Regions from separate parts of the Homo sapiens genome. Here region 1 is linked to region 2. Evidence: promoter capture Hi-C in 16 types of primary human blood cells and fetal thymus (Javierre and others, 2016). All regions are on one chromosome and are shown on one strand. The core of a region is centred on a gene start or on the middle of the fragment in contact, and the rest is flanking DNA. Distances in the headings are between cores, read along the strand shown.

Region 1 (4,108 bases), core at 507-3,006, 680 kb after region 2:
TCTTTGACTCTGGGTATGAGTAATTCCCTGTCTGATCTTACAGTGCCCAAGGAAGAAGTCAGTAGCTCCAGGATCGCTGAGACCAACCTGGGCGGCCTACAAGACTGCACCATGGTGACAGGCTGAATAGTCAGCAGCAAGACGACAGAGCACCAAAAAACACAGACTAGAATGGGGTCAGCCATCCAGGTGGCTAGTGGCTACTGCCTTTGACGATGCAGATAAAGAAAATTTTCATTCCTGCAGAGTTCTATGGGGCAGTGCTGCTCTAGAGGCTGACATTTCTATCCTCAGCACTTCCCCCGGCTATTACCTAGGTTCATTCTGCTGCTTCCACAAGGCAAGAATGGAACAGAATGCCTTAGAGCAATGGTCAGCGAACTGTTTATGTAAAGGGGCAGGGCCAGGCGCAGTGGCTCACGCCTGTTATCCCCGCACTTTGGGAGGCCGAGGCAGGTGGATCACGAGGTCAGGAGTTCAAGACCAACCTGGCCAACATGGTGAAACCCCAACTCTACTAAAAATACAAAAATTAGCTGGGTGTGATGGCAGGCGCCTGTAATCCCAGCTACTCGGGAGGCTGAGGCAGGAGCATCGCTTCAACCCAGGAAATAGAGGTTGCAGTGAGCCAAGATCACATGACTGCACTCCAGCCTGGGTGACAGAGCAAGACTCCGTCTCAAAAAAATAAATAAAAGGGGCAGATAGAAAACATCTGAGGCTCTGTGAGCCATCCGGTCTCGTCATAATTACTCAACTCTTACATTGGAGGTAGGGTGAAAGCAACAATAGAAAGTAAGTAAATCAATGAATGTGGTTGTGTTCCAATAAAACTTTATTAACAAGATCAGACAGTGGGGGGGGGGGGGTAGCATAGTTTGCCAAACGAAAATCCAATAAAAATTTATTAAAGATTTAAATGTGGCCAAGCGTGGTGGCTCATGACTGTAATCCCAGCACTTTGGGAAGCGGAGGCGGGTGGATCACAAGGTCAGGAGGTCGAGAACATCCTGGCCAACATGGCAAAACCCTGTCTCTACTAAAAGCACAAAAATTAGCTGGGCGTGGTAGCGCGTGCCTATAGTCCCAGCTACTCAGGAGGCTAAGGCAGGAGAATCACTTGAACCCGGGAGGCGAAGGCTGCAGTGAGTCGAGATCGCACCACTGCACTCCAGCCTGGGCAACAGAGCGAGACTCTGTCTCCAAAAAAAAAAAAATCAAAAAACAACATTTAAGTGTAAGACCTGAAATGAGAAAACTTTTCTTTTAGGTTTTTGTCTAGAAGTTTCTAGGTATTGATCTTGACAATAATTTACAGAATATGTCACAAAAGTGGAGACATGAAAAGCCAAACTAAACATGGGACAATGCCAAATTGAAAACCTTCACAGCAAAGAAACCAATGAACAAATTAAAAAGCTTTTTAACAATTATCCAAAATACCTAAAGAACTTGTATTAATAAATAGGAAAAAAAACTGAAACAAAACAGAAAAGCATCAAAAAGCTTAAAAATAAGCAGATTTGGCCGGGCACGGTGGCTCATGCCTGTAATCCCAGCACTTTAGGAGGCCGAGGTGGACGGATAACCTGAGGTCGGGAGTTCGAGACCAGCCTGACCAACATGGAGAAACCCTATCTCTACTAAAAATACAAAATTAGCCGGGCATGGTGGCACATACCTGTAATCCCAGCTACTAGGGAGGCTGAGGCAGAAGAATCTCTTGAGCCCGGGAGGCGGAGGTTGTGGTGAGCCAAGATCATGCCACCAGTCTGGGCAACAAGAGCTAAACTCCGTCTCAAAAAAAAAAAAAAAAAAACATGTTCAGCAAGGTTGAAGCATCAAAGGTTAATAGCCAGAATCATTTATCAATTGTATTTCTACACATCTGCAAGACACAATCTGAAAATGAAATTAGAAAAACAACTTCATTGGGCAACAAGAGCAAAACTTCATCTCAAAAAAAAAGAAAAAAAAAATAGTAATCTACAATGTCATTTCCTGTTCAAGCTTGACTTCTACCTTTACTTTCTGATATGGTTTTGCCATGTCCCCCCACCCACATCTCATCATGAATTATAATCCCCATAATCCTGATGTGTCGAGGGAGGGGCCTAGGGGGAGGTGATTGGATCACGGGGGCAGTTATCCTCATGCTGTTCTTGTGATATTCAGTAAGTCCTCATGAGATCTTATAGGGTTTTGTTTTGTTTTGTTTTTTGGATGGAGTCTTGCTCTGTCACCCAGACTGCAGTACCATGGCGCGATCTTGGCTCACTGCAGCCTCTGCCTCCTGGGTTCCAGTGATTCTCCTGCCTCAGCCTCCTGAGTAGCTGGGATTACGGGCATGCGCCACCACACCCAGCTAATTTTTGTATTTTTAGTAGAGACGGGATTTCACTAAGTTAGCTAGGCTGGTCTCGAACTCCTGACCTCAGTTGATCCACCTGCTTTGGCCTCCCAAAGTACCAGGGTTACAAGTGTGAGCCACCAAGCCCAGCTGAGATCTGATGGTTTTACACATGTTTGACAGTTGCTCCTTCACATGTTCCCACTCTCTGTGCGGCCACCATGTAAGTCGGACCTGGTTCCCCTTCTGCCATGATTGTAAGTTTCCTGAAGCCTACCCAGCCATGCGAAACTGTGAATCAATTAAACCTGTTTCCTTTATAAATTATCCAACCTCAGGTATTTCTTTATATCAGTGTGAAACAGACTAATGTGCTTTCCGATAATCATGCTTCAGGAATTGGGGAATTCAGACTACCTGGGATCAAATTGTGGCCCCAACCTTAGCAGCCATGTGACCTTGGGGAGGTTACTTACCTTCTCCATCTCAACTCCTTCAGTAAAATCTGTAAAATGACATTGTTTCTGAGGGTTAAATGAGCATAGCACAGTGTCAGGCACACACTACTTGCCAGATGTCGAGTATTCATCTTTATTGAAATAGGACTGTGGTAAGCCACTTTATGGCTCTCGATTTTGTATGAGAAAATCATGCTTAGTGCCTTGTTAGTAAAAGAAAGAAAACCTGAAAGTCCCTGCCACGGAAGGAAGAAATAGCGGGGAGAAAAGGGAGTTGGTAAGTTTCAGCATTTCAGAGCTTGGAGAGGGACAAGTTAGGTTTCCATTTTATGGAGAAGGAGGTGGAGGCAGGATGGGTCCTAAGGTGTCATTCAAAACACACAGCCATAACTCTTTATTGAGAGTAGCGCTAGGGCCCCAGGGATTGCTGTGGTCAAGTTGCGGACAAAAATGACCACTCGTTGGAAGACAGGAGAGGAGTGTTTAGTTACAAAAGCAGTCAACAATTCAGGTGTATCTATATTCAGACAGCAAATAAAAGTTGTTCAACTTGGTTGCTAATGGGACCCACTCTACTGAGGCTTTGTATAGAACTCATAGAGGAAGATGGCTTCAAGGAATGAACTACCCTGTGCTTTTCTTAGGACTAAAATCTCAGGAAGCTGGTGATGAATGAAAACCTTAGTCCCACTGGCACTGCACGAGGGGCCAGGAGAGCAGCAGCATCATAAGCCGCAGGGTGGGGCAGCCAAGGCAGGGGCATTCTGAGCTGTTGGGGAGGGGTGGCAGGCAGGGTGGGGCACTGTGAGCTGTCGGGGAGGGCATTGTGAAGTGTGGGGTGGGGCATTGTGTGCCACATGCCTGGGCTCCCACCTGGGGCCAGTGGGCTTCAGTCTGTAGGTGACTACAGAAGGAGGAGGAGCTCCGTCTGTTCTCTCTTCAGGCAGTTGTTGTGTCTCTCAGCACTTGTTGGGTTCACAACCTATTAAATAAGCCGGCTGGTCTTCACCCTCCCAGACAAGTCAACTCAGGGGAGGCAGCAGGGTGCGGGCCTTGGCCAGGGCCAGGGCCAGGGCCAGGGCCAGGGCTGGTGCCCGGGGCCGCGCTGTGAGGTGGGCAGGCGAGGAGCGGGAAGACCATCTCTGCAAGTGCAGCATAGCCTCGGCCTAGGACAGCGGGAGTGCGTGGCCAAAGCTGTGAGCAGAGGCACAGGTGGTGGCAGACAGTAGAGGCACCCCATGGGGAACATACTGACCTGTCGTGTGCACCCTAGCGTCAGCCTCGAGTTTGACCAGCAACA
Region 2 (4,218 bases), core at 1,370-3,869:
CTAACATTACGTGGGACCGTTGTGGTTACATGTGAGCTTCTGTGGCTCTGCTCCATGTGTCTTATCATCCTGGTTCCTAGACTAAAGGGGCAGCCCCTACTTGGGACATGCTATTCTCAAGGCAGAGGGAAAGAGCAGAGTCCTGGCAGAAACACAATGACTTGAAGTTTCTTCTGGGATGTGATGTACCCCTTGCATCCAGTCACATGCGGTCAGCCAATTCAAATCAGTGGTCAAGTCAACATCAGTGGGACAGGCATGTGGTTCACCAGGAGGCACCGGAGTCACACCACAAAGTGCAGGGACCAAAACCAGAGAAGGTGGAGCAAACCCTCAGGAATAATCATGCCTCAGGAATCTCACGTGAGATCCTCAAATGCTGCAAACAGTGCCTGGCACACAATAAGCACTCAATAAGTGTTAACTATTATTATACTAACAGCTAGGCTGAAGGCATAAAACCCTACCTGCTTTCTCTCCCTGTCTTTTTCCCATTCTCCTTTACCCTCCTCTCCTTCATATATTTTTCTGGCTCTCCCTCCTCTCCATCCTTACTGCCCAGGACTCTGTCCACACTTAGGGACACACACCCCTTTATTTCCTGACTTTCGTCTCTCTCTTTTTAAAAAATCCATCCTCGTTTACCCAATGCTTTAGTTGACATACCTCTGGCCCTTCTATGGCTGGCCCAGTTGTTTTCAGGTATAGGAAAAAGGGATAATCCATCTTTATGTAGACATTAAAGGAGTTAGTTTTAATTAGTAACTACCTTACTAACAAAATGGCTTTTTAAAAATTATCTTTTTATTTTAGTGTACATAGAGCAGACAGTCCCAACGGGTCATGTTTGCTCCTGACGCTTTTCCTAAACCATTTCTAGATCTCTGGCCATTGCCCTTTACCCCAAACTCTCCAACCACCAGCATCAACCAACTTATAACAATTTAATAATAAAAGTAACAACGACTCTCATTTCTTCTGTGTTATACATTGTGCTAAGTGCCTTACATTACCTCATTTAATCACTGCAATAGTCCAGATACTCTCTAGATTGCGAGTGGAGCTTCTTTGTCCAGACCTCATTCAGCTTTGTGCTTTGCCATATGCAGAGACAGCTCCCTACAGAGCAGAAAGCCCCAACTTAAGAGAATGAACCTATGACTTAGTTTAGCCTCCACCAACAAACCACTGTATTACTTCAGGCAGGTCAGCCTCTCTTGCTTCAGTTTACTGATTTGCAAGACAGATATGATAATCTGTGCTTCATGAGACTATGGTGAAGATGAATAACCAGAAGATAAGATGTAAAAGTACTTTGTAAACAATAAGGCATCTTATAAATTCATTCATTCAACAGCTATTTACTGAGTGTCTGTTCCCTGCTGAGCACTGTTTTCAGCACTGCAGACACAATAAAGAACTAAAGAGACAGATCATGAGAGGCATCGGGTGCCACTGCGAGGTCCTTGGCTTTGCTCTAATAAGTTGGGAAGCCTTTGAAGGTTTTGAACAAATGAATGACATGATCTAACTTAGGTTTAAGAGGATTACTCTGGGGCCGTGAATAGACTGTAGGGCAACCCGTCTGGAAGCCAATATAATAATCCAGAAGGTGGATGAAGGTGGCTTGGTGGTTATAGCAGTGGAAGTGTTGAAAGTGGCTTGATAATGAATATATTTTAACGATGAAGCCGACAGAATTTGTGGATAAATCACAGGTGAATTTTGGATGAAAAAAAGAAGAGACAACAGTGACATCAAGGTTTTTGGCTTGAGCAACTGGAAAGATGATGGGATCTTCACCCATCCCTGGGAAGAAGACTGTTGCAAGAACAGGTTAGGTAGATATCAGGAATTCATTTGGGGGGTATGTTAGGTTTGGGATGTCCATTACACATGCAAATGCAGCTCTTGAGTAATCAGTTCGATATACAAGTCTAAAGTTCAATAACATTTATGTCCCACAGTCAGACTGGAGTTACCAATGCGGGAGTCTTCAGCATGCAGCAATAGCATTGGAAGCCAAAAGGCGGAGGAGCTCCCCAGGGAGTGGGGGAACACGGAGGTCAGCTGGTCAGATGACTGAGCACGGCCAGGATGGCTGAGGAGGAGCCTGGAAGGAATAAGAACAAAGAGAGATCATTACTAATGAGCAACAAAAGGGGTGTGTTGAAATCAGACTTTGGAGCCACAAAGAACCATTCCAATTCTGGGTCGTCCGCTTACACACGGTGAACGGAGCACATTTCTTCTCTGAGCCTTGGTTCCTTTCCTGTAAATGGAGTATAACCACTCCCATCTTGCAGGAGCTTTTTGGTGATAATTAAGGTGACTTCGTGAAAAGTACCAGGGTCTCAAAAATCTCAAAATTTGTGGAAAGTATGCAGTTTCTAGGTTGGAGAGGCTAGAGTTTGGTTTCAAAAGCCTCGACCACACACAGGGGCGGTTACAGCTCTTGAGGTCCCGGGGGTCACAGGACGCCTTCCGAGTTGGGGGGAGGAGAAAACAAAACCACAGGAAGAAACGAACAACGCTTTCGGGTGGGCCCGGGACCATAGAGGGTCGCTCCGCCACTTTCCTAGAGCGACCGCGGCGGCGCCAGAGCGCGGCGAGGCCCTCACTTCCGGCGGCGCGGGAGGCGCCCAGCGAGCCAGAGTGGTGGCTGGTCCCGCGCGGTGAGTGGGATTGGGGCACTTGGGGCGCTCGGGGCCTGCGTCGGATACTCGGGTCCGCTCGGGAGCGCGCTGGCCGCAACGAGGGCGGCGCGGGCCCGGGCGATGGCGTGGCTTGCGTCTCCCGCCTCCGGGCAGGGCCTGGCCGCCGGGCGGGGGCGGGAGGGCCACGCGGGCCCAGGGTGGGGCCGCGGCCTGCGCGGCGGGCGGGCCGGGTCAATGAGGAGCGGCCGGCGGAGTGCTGGGAACGGGAGGCTTGGACTGGGGGCCCGGGCGAGGCGCGGCCCGCGGCGGGTGGAACTGGGCGGGTGAGCAGCAGCCCCGGCCCCTTCCGTCGCTCGGAGCGTTCGAGGACTAGATACGTGGAACAAATGCTTAGGCAGCACAGGGCTGCTCTGAGCGGTTTTCAGATTCAGACTCATTGCAACTTCTAACATCTTGATGGTGTTGCCACTTTATCATTACCCTCCCCATTTTACGAGGAAACTGAGGCACATTCCAGTTAGCTGGGTGTGCAAGAACAGCAGCTTCTGTCACTCAGGTTTAACTTCGTGCTTGCCCCTGCTGGGGAGCTATGCAAAGCACGGGTCGCCGCGCTGGACTGAGCAATGGAAGATGTGGCTGCCACTAAGAGTACAGGCTCTGGAGTCAAACTGCTAGGGTCTGGGAACCCGGCCAGTGCCTTCTAGCATTGTGCCCTCGTTTCCTTAACTTAAAACGGAAATAACTGCATAAAGGTGCCAGGAGAATTAAAGAGCTAGCACAGAATCAAGTTACACAGTGTCTGGCACATACTAGTATGATTGCCTCATCCGTAGGTGGATTTGACAGTCTGAGTTTCTGACTAGATCTGACTTCCATTGTATTAAATGCGTGTGCTTTTATGTATAATGACCATTATAGTTATTAAAAAAAAAAAAAAGCAACACCAACACCATGTACCTAACACAATGTCTCCTGTGTGGTAGATGTTCTGTAAATATTTGCTTAAGTTAAGGAGTGGGTAGTCCTAACTGTAATCTTGTGTTATATGCGGCTTACTCTTACGCTGACCATAATTACAGCTGATGTAATTATTAAATATCCAGATAAAGTCCTGGACCTAAAGTCTCAATTATACAATAAGATGAAAGGAAGGCAAGAAAAATTATGTTTTTGTTTTCATTTATTTGCTTTATATGTTTGTATGCAAAGAAACCCAGAATAATTGTTTCTATTTTAAATTCCACATTCTGACACAAGATAATGAAAAATAGTTCCAATAATTTTATTGCTTTTGAAGTTCTAGATTTTCCGACATTGCCACCTATGTGGGGTTTGTAGGGGTTTTTGTTGGTTTGTTTTGGCCGTTATTTTAAATAGCCACAAGTCAGCCTTATAAATAAATAAAATCATTTGAAATTTTGAATTTTGCAGCATTTGGGTATTCTAAAAATTCCATCCTAGTTTTACATGTAAACTCATTTTCTCCCCCCTCTCCTTTTCTTGTGTCCTACCTACCATGCGTTTTCTACTCAGTTTCATTCCACTTTCTGGTAAAAGTTCT

What was found. The method cuts DNA at HindIII sites, captures the fragments that hold promoters and counts their contacts. A CHiCAGO score of 5 or more calls a contact.
Region 1: a contact is called between a fragment that was not itself captured here and the fragment with the promoter of ZNF22 in region 2, in 2 of 17 cell types (M2 macrophages and fetal thymus). The highest score is 6.7, in M2 macrophages.

Annotation. Positions count from the first base shown.
Region 1 is chr10:45,674,772-45,678,879 of GRCh38, forward strand. It overlaps the pseudogene AGAP10P. Among named protein-coding and RNA genes, the nearest start is that of ZFAND4, 4.1 kb to the left of the region's middle. The HindIII fragment of the contact is 504 bases long and covers 1,505-2,008 here.
Region 2 is chr10:44,998,304-45,002,521 of GRCh38, forward strand. ZNF22 (zinc finger protein 22) reads left to right here and starts at 2,620. Exons shown (of 2, transcript NM_006963.5): 1 at 2,620-2,675. It overlaps LOC124902530, which reads left to right. Exons shown (of 3, transcript XM_047426129.1): 3 at 2,477-4,080. The coding sequence ends at 3,106. ZNF22-AS1 (ZNF22 antisense RNA 1) reads right to left here and starts at 2,500. Exons shown (of 4, transcript NR_126421.2): 1 at 2,227-2,500; 2 at 1,983-2,113; 3 at 1,014-1,119. RefSeq lists a silencer at 2,660-3,009 and an enhancer at 2,736-3,236. The HindIII fragment of the contact is 6,687 bases long and covers 1-4,218 here.